4 separate regions of the Homo sapiens genome follow, and regions 1, 2 and 4 are each linked to region 3. The links are contacts of gene promoters, found by promoter capture Hi-C in blood cells and fetal thymus (Javierre and others, 2016). All regions are on one chromosome and are shown on one strand. The core of a region is centred on a gene start or on the middle of the fragment in contact, and the rest is flanking DNA. Distances in the headings are between cores, read along the strand shown.

The links. The method cuts DNA at HindIII sites, captures the fragments that hold promoters and counts their contacts. A CHiCAGO score of 5 or more calls a contact.
Region 1: a contact is called between a fragment that was not itself captured here and the fragment with the promoter of DCTD in region 3, in 1 of 17 cell types (total B cells). The highest score is 5.3, in total B cells.
Region 2: the fragment with the promoter of SPATA4 here is called in contact with the fragment with the promoter of DCTD in region 3 in 6 of 17 cell types (non-activated CD4 T cells, total CD4 T cells, naive CD8 T cells and 3 more); the score reaches 13.9 in non-activated CD4 T cells.
Region 4: a contact is called between a fragment that was not itself captured here and the fragment with the promoter of DCTD in region 3, in 1 of 17 cell types (total CD4 T cells). The highest score is 8.9, in total CD4 T cells.

What each region holds. Positions count from the first base shown.
Region 1 is chr4:173,373,327-173,376,274 of GRCh38, forward strand. It overlaps SAP30 (Sin3A associated protein 30), which reads left to right. Exons shown (of 4, transcript NM_003864.4): 2 at 64-189; 3 at 613-711. Among named protein-coding and RNA genes, the nearest start is that of SAP30, 3.8 kb to the left of the region's middle. The HindIII fragment of the contact is 172 bases long and covers 1,374-1,545 here.
Region 2 is chr4:176,194,129-176,197,077 of GRCh38, forward strand. SPATA4 (spermatogenesis associated 4) reads right to left here and starts at 1,457. Exons shown (of 6, transcript NM_144644.4): 1 at 1,217-1,457. The coding sequence starts at 1,434. The HindIII fragment of the contact is 1,203 bases long and covers 947-2,149 here.
Region 3 is chr4:182,916,079-182,918,865 of GRCh38, forward strand. DCTD (dCMP deaminase) reads right to left here and starts at 1,308. Exons shown (of 6, transcript NM_001921.3): 1 at 1,233-1,308. RefSeq lists a silencer at 940-1,649. The HindIII fragment of the contact is 3,169 bases long and covers 1-2,408 here.
Region 4 is chr4:176,315,268-176,318,171 of GRCh38, forward strand. The region is part of intron 1 of SPCS3-AS1 (SPCS3 antisense RNA 1); the gene reads right to left. Among named protein-coding and RNA genes, the nearest start is that of SPCS3, 3.2 kb to the right of the region's middle. The HindIII fragment of the contact is 4,304 bases long and covers 1-2,904 here.

The DNA.
Region 1 (2,948 bases), core at 210-2,709, 9.5 Mb before region 3:
TTACTAATACATAGACACATTTTACTGTAATCATAAGCAGTGTGTAAAACTTTTCTGTTTCAGGCAAGGCATCTTTACATATGTGATTATCATAAAAACTTAATTCAGAGTGTTCGAAACAGAAGAAAGAGAAAAGGGAGTGATGATGATGGAGGTGATTCACCTGTTCAAGATATTGATACCCCAGAGGTAGATGGAAGTTTTTTATGCTTAATGTAAATCCTAAGTAGTGCATTCTGAAGCCTTTATAAAAAGATATGAACAATCTTTTAAGTGTTTAAAACATTTGAGAAATCTGAAAATGAAAGCAAAATTAAATATAGCCAGTTGACATGCATTTACACAGTTTGAATTGTTACATTTTAGATTGACAATTTTTGCAGCTCTGTTGTCACATAACTTACTCTTTTTTTGACCTCAGTTTATATTATTTATCCCCAAAAGATTAAATTCTTTAATAATTTATGTTGGATTATATAAATTTTTTAAATTTTTTTTGATTTTGGAAGTAAATTTTATTGTGCTGAAGTTAAAATGTTTGTTATTATACATATCAATGATAAATTTTCAACAAATTGTATGAACTCATTTATACATGTTAATTTTTTCTAGGTTGATTTATACCAATTACAAGTAAATACACTTAGGAGATACAAAAGACACTTCAAGCTACCAACCAGACCAGGACTTAATAAAGCACAACTTGTTGAGGTATATATGAGTTTTAAACTATTTGAACTATCTGCACAACCGAGAGGTTATTAAGTGCTAATGGAAGTTTTAATGTAGTGTATGTAACAGTACATTTTAATTAGAAAGAACAAAGTTAAAAAATCTGTTGTGGAAGAATCTAGTTGTGTAGAAATGTTTGTCTGCCACTTAGGAAATTCCTTTTTGTAATGACTGCTTAGTAGATTGTGTACAGCACCTTCTGATACTGGCTTTCAAAATGTGTTGATTGTTTTTTGAGACAGAATCTCACTCTGTCACCCAGGCTGGAGTGCAGTGGCATGATCTTGGCTCATTGAAACCTCTACCTACCAGGTTCAAGCAATTCTCCAGCCTCAGCCTCCCAAGTACCTGGGACTTCAGGTGTGCACCACCACACCAGGCTAATTTTTGTATAATATTTTTAGTAGAGATAGGGTTTCACCATGTTGGCCAGACTTGTTTCAAACTCCTGACTTCAAGTGATCTGCCCACCTCAGCCTACCAGAGTGCTGGGATTACCAGTGTGAGCCACCGTGCCTGGCCCTCAAAATGTTGAATGAGAGTTTTTTTAATCCTCACTTTAGAAATCTATTAATTTTAAAACTCCGTTTAACCAGTAAACATTTGAGCACCTAATTGAGGCATAATAAAATTAATTAACAAGCTTTAATGTCCTTATTAGAATTTATATTTTAAAGTGGTGGAATAGGCCTACAAATCAGACCCTAAACAGTATTTTTATAATTTGCTGACTTAACTATTTCAAAATTTGTCCTTGTTGATGTTTGTTTTATTAGAGACATCCATGTTTTTTTCACATCTAGAAGAGGCAAAAGCTTTTCTTTTACCCAAGCTTTTACTTGTAGTTTGCTTTGATAGAGGACTTCTAGTCAGTCACTGAGTTGTGAAAAGTTAACGGAGCATGCATATGTTTTCAGGATATAATAGAACCAAGAAATCTGTGCATCTTATTAAGATGTTTATAGATTTATATATATATATTTTAATCATATTTAAAATAAAAATTTTTACTTGCAGCTACTGAGGAGGATTGATTAAGCCTAGGAGTTTGAGTCACCATGGGCAACATAGCAACACTCCATCTCTAAAAAAAGAAAATTTGGCCTACTAGACAAAATAGAAGTGTAGAAATATAAATCAGTTTTCTCATATTCTTTGCATGGATTTAGTAGTTACCCAACATTTTCTAAAATGTGCCTATTGAATAAAATGAAATATGAATAGAAGTTACATTTATTTGGCAGAATGCTTTTTAACATTGTTAAAATCTAATATATTAACTATTTAGCTAAAATTTTTTATCCTTGGTTGGGCAACACAGATCTAATTAATTTTTCTTTAATTTTGATTTAAAAGATCAAGTTCTTTTGGGGTTGTACAATACATTAATGTAACATAAATATAGTTATTGCCCACCATGATGAAATATTTCAATAGGTACTAATGGAGTGAAGGCACCCCTGTTTTGGGACAAATGAGAACCAAAGAACTGATTATTTTAAATGTTATATTTAGGTATAAATTAAACCTGTAATTTTTGATAAACTGACCTTCTAAGAACAGTTATATTATTTCCAGAGCTATTTTCTTTTTTATACATAAGAGATAGCCATGAGTGTTATATTTTACTTAATCAGAAATGCAGATATTAGCAAGTTAAGGAATGTGCAGATGTAGTACATATATTTTAAGAGAGGGGTCCCCAACCCCAGGGCCATGGACTGGTACTGGTTGGTGGCCTGTTAGGAACGGGTCCGCAGAGCAGGAGGTGAGCACCAGCTAGCAAGCATTACTGCCTGAGCTCCGCCTCCTGTCAGATCAGCCACAGAATTAGATTCTCAGAGGAGTCCAAACCCTCTTGTGAAGTGCACATGTGAGGGATCTAGATTGTATGCTTGTTATAAGAATCTAATGCCTGATGATCTGAGGTGGAACAATTTCATACCAAAACCAACTCCGCCACCCTCAATCTGTGCAAAAATTGCCTTCCGTGAAATCTATCTCTGGTGCCAAAAAGGTTGGGGACCACTGTTTTAAGGGAATCCAGGGTTGTATGACTAAGTCTTAAGTCTCTTAATTATTGTGTGGATGAACTTTTTTCTTAAGAAATTTTATTTTCTGGAATCTAAATATGCATGTCAGCACCCCAGGTAAGTCTATTATTCTTCTATTAGTAATTGTAGTATGCATGTTATGTTAGCACAATGAAAAAGCAA
Region 2 (2,949 bases), core at 207-2,706, 6.7 Mb before region 3:
CATCAGATCAACTGTACAGTGTGGTGCGCTTGTGTGCAAAGTGCAAGAGCAGTGATGCTGGTGATTCAGATATGCCAGAGAGAAACCATAAAATTATTCCTTTAGGTGAAAAGATGAAAGTTCTTGACTTAATAGAAAGTTGTAAGAATGGTTACAATGGTAGGAATGAATCATATTCCTGAAATATGAAGAAAAAGAAATTCTTGATAGTTTCGGCATCACACCTCAAACTGAAAAACTTTCAGCCACAGTGTGTGATAAGTGCTTAGTTAAGATTTTTAAAAAGGCATTAAATTTGTGGATGGAAGACATAAACAGAAATGTGTTCTGACAGAGGGTTCTGTAGTATCCACAGTTGCCATCCACTGGGGATCTTGGAACCTATGCCTCTCTGATAAGGAGAGACTACTTTAAACCAGAGTTCTGCAAAAGATTCATTGCCTTTTTATAGAATTTAGTTTGCATTCCCAGAGCAAATATTAGCTGCCAGTTACATACAAAGTGCCTACAATTAAGCAGCAACTTTAAAAACTTGTTGGTAACTCTCAAACTAGATGCCATCTCCGACAAAGGGTAAACTGATCCTTACCAGTATTTTTTTTTTTTTTTTTTTTTTTTTTTTTTGAGACAGAGTCTTACCCTGCCACCTAGGCTGGAGTGCAGCGGCATAATCTCGACTCACAGCAACCTCCGCCTCCCGGGTTCAAGCATTCTCCTGCCTGCAGCCTCCCCAGTAGCTGGGATTACAGGCACCCGCCACCACACTGGGCTAATTTTTTGTATTTTTTAGTAGAGACGGGGTTTCACCGTGTTGGTCAGGCTGTTACTCAACTCCTGACCTCAGGTGATCCGCCTGCCTCGGCTCCCAAAATGCTGGGATTACAGGCATGAGCAACTGTGCCCGGCCGTCCTTACCAGTATTAATGCCCAATATCACTAAAGAAAAAGCTTTGACTATTTTAATATTTTTGTAGTCACCAAAGCATTCTATATTGTCCACAATTTAATGATTGGTTGATTAATTGAATAAACAAGATGTATCGTGGTATTTTGTTAAAGCCTTGTTCCCTAATAGTGTTTTCGTGTGTGTACGTGGGTGGGGGGGTCTTGATTTGAAACATAAGCCAGGCCAGGGTAGGCAATCTGAGGCCTGGCAGGCGGCGGAAAGCAGGCGGGGCGCCCACCGGGGGGGCCTAGGACTGGCTTACTCAAGCACCTGTTGATGTTCCTGGGGAAGAAGCTGAGATCCAGACCCTGAAGCCAACGCAGAACGGAACGAGACAAGCGGGAGCTCTTCGGCGCATGCGGATAGACCAGACACTTCTTAGGCCTCCCTCGGATGGGAGCTGCTAGCTGTGGCGAAAGTGACGGTGACTTGTCTAGGGCTGCCGCAGTCTGTGTCAAATACCCTTTTTCCTGGCCGGCGGCAGCCATGACGCTTTCTGGGTTGCTGCGGCAACAGCAGAAGGCGGGGCTGGGCCTTATTGCTGGCGGCGCGGTCTCGTGGGGCGGGGCGGAGTCTTATGGGGCGAGACCTCAGCGCCTGCGCAAGCGCCGCAGCAGCCGCCCGTACTTCCGCTTTACTCAGATTTTGGACCGCGGGGCCGGGTATCGAGGGAGGCAAAGCTGGGGTCCCAGTGGTGTGGCTGCGGTCTGGGGAGCGCTTTCAGTCTCAGATTTAGTTGGCCTCACTGTTAACCTATTTAGAGCTTTTTTTTTCTTATGTCATCGTTCATAAGTTTTGTATTTTAAATATTGTTGGTTTCTGCCCAGCCAAAGGCCTATTTTCAGTCGTCTAGTTTGAGGAGTGGTGTGAGAAGACTCCAGAGGCCAAGGACAGTTTTTGTTTGGGAATTGGAAGAGATGGGGGAAAAAAATCTTTGAAATGGAAATGAATGTCCACAAAATTTAACATAACTATTTCCTTAATTATTGCATTAAGTATTTGTAAACATTAATATTTGAAAACGATGTGTAGGTTAGATTTTCACACTTAATTAAAATCTCCTAGTAGGCATAATTCCTTCATTAATTCAACAAATATGTATTGAGTCCATATTATGTGCCACGCATTCATCTAGTCACTTGGGATCTATCTGAACACAATGAAAACAACTGCAAAGTTGGCATAGGCAATTATAAATATGTAAGCTTAATTATTAAAATCCATTAAAAATTTTTACAGCCACAGTTTTTTGTTTTTTGTTTTTTGTTTTTTGTTTTTTTTTGCTTGGCAGGGCACAGTGGGTCATGCCTGTAATCCCAGCACTTTGGGTGGTGGAGGCGGGAGGATCGTTTGAGCTCAGGAGTTCAAGACCAGCCTGGGCAACACAAGGTGGAGAGACTTTCGCTACAAAACAAACAAACAAACAAAATAGCTGGGTGTGGTGGTGCACACCTGTACTCTCAAGTACTCCAGATGCTGAGGTGGGAGGATTGCTTGAGCTCAGGAACTTGAGGCTGCAGAGAGCCAGGTGACAGGCCCTGTGGATACATACACATGGTAAAATATGGGATAGATCTTGATAATGATACTATGTAATATTTTTAATGTTTATTCATATACATGCTTATTAATAAAGTAAACCAGTGTATTCTGTATGTGGTTAAAAAAGAAAACCAAAACTGAAGCTATGTAAGTGTTTTCTGTTAGGCTAAAAAAGTTTTAATGAATGATTCATTCATTCTGTAAACCTTTTCTGAGGAACTATCCTGGAGTATGTGCTAGATCTTTACCATCCAATATGGTAGCCACTAGCCACATGTGGCTATTTAAACTTAAATTTAAATAAACTCAGTTCCACTGGCTACATTTTACCTGCTCAATAGCCATATGTAGCTAGTGGCTGCCATGTTGGGTAGGACAGACACAGCACTGTTCCATCACTACAGGAATTTCGATTGGACAGCTCTGTGCGGCAGATCATTTATAAGAGATTCAGAGATAGA
Region 3 (2,787 bases), core at 58-2,557:
GATTATCATCCATGCCAGACGGATTCAAAGAAAACATCTGAAGCCTTCCCAACTCTGATATTAACCAGATAATTTTTCCCTTCCCTTTCTCCTCAATAATCCAGATGGGACAGAAGTTATCAACTCCGAGTAATGAATTACATGAGAAGAAACTATGAAAAACGTCAAGTGCTACTCCTAAAGCAAGGTTTTTGGAACGTAGTTTACCAGGGGCAAGCAGAGACTGTCTACGGCAGGGAGAGCCCACGAAGGGGGTCCTAGGACTTCAGGGGAGTGGTCGCTTTCAAAAGGAATGAAACAAGGGCAAGGAAGGAAGACAACACAAAAACGGGGTGGGTACCACGGAGAAATCTTGAGAAAGGCGAGGAATGTGGTCTAAAGGAAGGCAAGCATCTCCCAAAACTTCTGCTTCAGGCTCCACACTTTATTTAGGCATCTGCTACAGTGCAGGGCGGCAGTGCCTAAGACAAGGATGCAGTGGAGAGTGGGTGCTGGGAACCACGGTCACCCACTGATTACGCTGCCCCACATCTGAGAGGCCTGGCAACCCCCCTAACAGGAAAAGACAGGTGCTGAATCAGCCTGGTTTCCCACCTGGCTTTAGGGCCAGCATCCATCATCGCTGTGGGGTGCTGGAGAAGTACCTACTAAATAGGAGGGAGGGGGAGCCATGGGGGGCGAGGGAAGAGCAGGAGAGGGAAGGGTCCTGTTAATCCCCTGGGCGCCTTCTCCTGGTGTGGCTGAACGCCCACTAGAGCCCTGTGAGGACTGAGGCCCAGCTGTAGAAACAGAGAGAACTGGAGCTCGAATACAACGATTCAGGAAGACACATCCGGTCACCGTCCCAGGCACACCCCACGCCGCTCGCAACCCCGTCAGCTCTGATCCAGGGCCTACACCCGGCATTCCCAACCCACACACGGGCGCAGGAAGGGATGTGGTGTTCAGACGCCCAGCACCACCTCCCGGGGCACTCCAAGGGGCCCGGCCTCGCACAGGCCGCGGCGCCCGCCGAGAAATCGACCCTGGAGTGACTGCGGGGACCCCGAGCGCCCCCACCCCGCCCGCATTCTCCGATCTAAAGGCTGAGCGCGGCCGAGGCGCCCCCAGCGTCCGCGGCCCCAGGCCCCCGCCCGGCAGCCAGCGCCCCGCGCCACGCGCTCGGGACGGTGCCACGCGGCGGTGGCTAGGGGCGCGCGGGCCGCGTACCCGCACGGCTGGCCCCCGCCCACCATCCGGTGCCGGCTCCGCGCGCAGGCCGGTGCTCGTCCCCGCCGCCGCCGTGCTCAGGGAAGGAAGTCGGGGGAGGAGGCGGGGCCGCCGCGGGGCCGGAAGGGGGCAGCGGCCCGGGCGCCGCGCGTTCGCAGGACGGCGGCTGGCCCCGGGGGCCCGAAGCCCTGAGGGGAGGGAGGGAGGGACGGCGGGGGCGGGTCGCACGCCGCAAAGGCGCTGCTCCGCGTCGCCGTACGCCTCCCGGTCCCCGTGACGCAGCCCGCGGTCCGGCCGGCGGTGTTCAGAGCCCGAGCACAAACTACTTCCCGGGTGCCAGACCGCCCCGAGGTCGCCCCGCTGCCCGGGTCACGCGTGGCGCTGGGTGGCCGCGAGTTGGGCGCTCCCGGGCCTGACTGCACGACCGTCGGGGGCTGCTTGGTTTGGTGGTGGTGGCGGTGGTGAGGTTTTCCCCACCATCCGTGTTCCATCAACTGCTTAGAGACACGGCTATGGAGATTGTGATTAAAAGACGACCCCAAGAATCTAGTGCCGTGAAACTGGCGGGGCGGGAGGTGGGGAGACCTGGTTTGGGTCTCTGGAGTGAGCCCGCTGTGTCGCAGCGTCCCCGTGGGGACCCTTGGCCGGTGGCTGGGTCACAGTTTCACACACTGGATGGGGCAGGGAACTGGGTCCGGCGGGGGCGCTGTGCCTCGAGGCTCAGTGCCTCGAAGCTAGATTTGCATTTGGCTGCGCCTGACAGGCTTTCAGTTTCTGCTCAAATTGTGCGGAAGGGCCTGAGGTGTTTGCTAAAGCCTGCCGCGCCCTGCTCGACCCGTATCACCGCACAGGCACCCCACCTGCATGTTACCTCCTGGTAATGCTCGCCCACTTATATAGTGCACATTTTGTTGCAGTTGTTTCAAAGATGAGAAAAACAGGGCAATAGGAAAGACCATCAGTGACATTTCTGGAGTCGTATGCCCCAAGCAACTTAATCTGGTTTTCATGAACTTCGTTACCCTGTGCAGACGTCTAGCCCCTTACAGTGGTTCTAGCACAGAGAATGACAGAAGAACCCCTTTCTGTTTCATTCATGGGACTTGAGGGGACTGTCAGCACTCCATAAATAACAGCTACTGTAATAATCGCCAGTTCTGATCTGCACATCCCAGATTTGAACTGCTATTCCAAACAAAAGCTTGTTAACTATATTAATTTAGCCTAACGGAGGAAGAATGATGAGAGTAAACAGTTGGTTCTATCTAATTTCTCACTACAGCAGACACATCATTCTTCATCTCATGGTCCAGCTTGTAGATTCAATAATTAAATTATGTACTGCTCTTGGTGGATGCCGGGAAAGCAAAAGGGAGAAATACTTCATCGTTAACTATAGATTTTTTTTTTTTTTTTTTTGCCTTGATAAGACTCAGGCTTGAAAGAGCCACATAGATTAAGATGATGATTTTTAATTTCAAGTTGACTTTACATGGCTGTCTTGTTGCCGCTAAAATGTGTCATATATCCCGAGCCCCTGGTTTCCCTCCTCCTCCCAAATCCACCGCTTGGTCTTTG
Region 4 (2,904 bases), core at 236-2,735, 6.6 Mb before region 3:
ACCATTTTACCCATTTACACTTTAACTGTTCGTTACCTGTGTGTGACATATATGCTTTACATGAGAATTCTTTCAAAAATATCATGATCTATGATTTCAAGGTATCTCAATTCAATAAGAATTTTTTTGACCATCTACTACGTGCAAGGCTCAGTGTCCTGGGCACTGAAAGGGATAGAAAAATGAACAAGACCTGATCCCCACTCTCTATGATGAACAACATAATTCATAGTCACTTTCTGAAAACCATTTGAGTCCTTAATGTGCTAGATCTATAACATGCTCCATTGCAGGAACTTCCCTGGGGAGCTTGGTGCTTTGTGGACTCTTTGGATATTCCCAATAACACCATATTTAATTAGAACGTTTTTATTGGCCGGGCGCAGTGGCTCATGCCCATAATCCCGGCACTTTGTGAGGCCTTGGCGGGCGGATCGGCTGAGGTCGGGAGTTCAAGACCAGCCTGGCCAACATGGTGAAACCCTGTCTCCACAAAAAATACAAAAAAATAGCTGGGCGTGGTGGCGGGCGCCTGTAATCCCAGCTACTCGGGAGGCTGAGGCAGGAGAATCACTTGAACCTGGGAGGTGGAGGTTGCAGTGAGCTGAGATCGCGCCATTGCACTCCAGCCTGGGCAACAAGAGCGAAATTCCATCTCAAAAAAAAAAAAGAAGGCTTTTATTATATCTTTCAGTTTATCCCCTTTTTAAAAAGCATTATCTGGCCATGTGCACACAGCTTTATTTAAAGATTTCCTTATAAAGTGATTTATTGTTCTTACCTCTTCTTAGCTTGGTGTTACAGAAGAATAATTATTTGCAAATATGAAGATCAAAACTTTACATTTATTCTAGGTTTCTTTCTATCCTTCAGAAATACAGTTAGGCATGTCTTTCCCAGCTGATCGCTATTTACTCAAGCGCTGACAAAGCATGCCAATCGCTCCCCCCATTACTGCCACTAGGTTCTGAGCTGAAATCATTAAAGAGTACAAGACACTTAGTTTAAAAATGCTACGTATTAATTTAAGGTCTGTAATACTATTTCAGATAAACAGCCTCAGTTTCCTTCAGTACAACCTCAGTGTTTGACTAGTAGTATTTGCATCAAAAAGCATTAAAAATAAAATAACACGTTACAATGTTGAAGACTACCATTCATAATGAAAATGTAACTATTATTAATACTTGCTTACCAAATAATATATCAACAATTTTTGTGAAGGAGAAACTATAGGAGATGTGAGAATAAACAGACAAAACACAGTATTGGAGATTTTAACAAATCTCTCAGAATCCAAGAAAATGAAGGTAACAAATATTACTACAGATGTAAAAGACATAAATAACATAATCAATAAGGCAGATCTCATAGGTATCTATCAAATTCTATATACTATTAAGAGGAAATACCTTCTTTCAAGTTGCACATTGAATTTTCACAAAAGTGACATTTTAGGCCACAAAGAAGACCTCAATAATCCAAAGAATAGAAATATACAAACAGCATTCTCTGCCTACATGATTTAAAATCAGACATTAATTTAAAGCAATCAAAAGGAAAAATGGTACTTTCTCTTGGAAATTCATAGTCAGAAATTTTAGGATACAGCTAAAGCAGTTACCATAACAATAAACATGAAAAATATACCAACTAAATATCCAATTTCCAAAGCTAATAAACAAAAAAAGTGGAATGAAAAAAGTTGATAGTGTTAAAACCAAAAATTAATGAGTTGGAAAACAGTAGAGTTAATTAGTAAATGCAGAAGTGCTTTGAAAGAAAACAAGAAAAAATACTAATTAAAACAATAAATGAAAAAGGTAGAAAGCACAAGTATACATAATTAGAATTAACAATTAATAATTTAAAAAAAATAGAAGAATAGACTCCCTTGGGAATTTCTACCAAATTTTCTATCAAATTTTTAAAGACCAGATCCAAATGCTACTTAAAATATCCCAGTGCACAGAAAACTAAGGAAAACTTATTTTCCTTGTTATATTAGAAATATATATTTTCTAATTTGAGTATAATATTACAATCAAAAAAACACATCAGTTTCACTATGAATATTGATTACACAAACTAAAAAACAAAAAACCCCAAAATTAGCAAAGAAAGCACAAGAGCATATTAAAAACTAATTCATCATGACCAGGTGGAGTTTATTCCAGGAATGCTTACTGGGCCAATATTATAAAATCTATTCATATAACCCATTAAATAAGCAGAGGAAATAAGATAGAGGAAAGAAGTAGAGGAAATAAGATAGGGAAAATGCATCTGAAAACAATTTAGCACTTGTTTATATTTTTAAAAATTTCCCAATAGGAATAGATATTTCCTATCAATATGCAATATATATTATATAATGATACATGTACACACACACACACAATTTCCATCTCAAAGCCAACATCTTACTTGATGGAGAAATGAAAGGAAATTTCCTGCTCAAATCAGGAACAAAAAGATATCAGTTGTCCCCATCTGACTGAATATCATGTTGGAAATATTAGCTACTGAAATGAATAAACAATTGGAAATATAATAATTGGAACGGAAAAGGCAAAATGATATCTAATGTAGGTGATATAAATGTCTAGAAAATCTAAAGAAACACTTGGAAAAATAAAACAGAATAAGAAAATTCCCTATCCCATCCCTCTCCTGCTCTTTTTGTGGACTTTTATGTGTTTTTAGCACTACCAGTAAGTCAAGTTAAAAACTGTGGTGTCATAATAATAATACTAGTTTCATTTGAGTGTTCACAATCTGCATTCACTCTATGCTTTGCAGACCCCCACTCTTATTTAGGCAGTTGCTAAGTAACATAGAGTTTGTTTCCGAAATGCCCCTCCTATCAGTCTTCCTTTTGGGTCCATCACTCACTCTCCACAT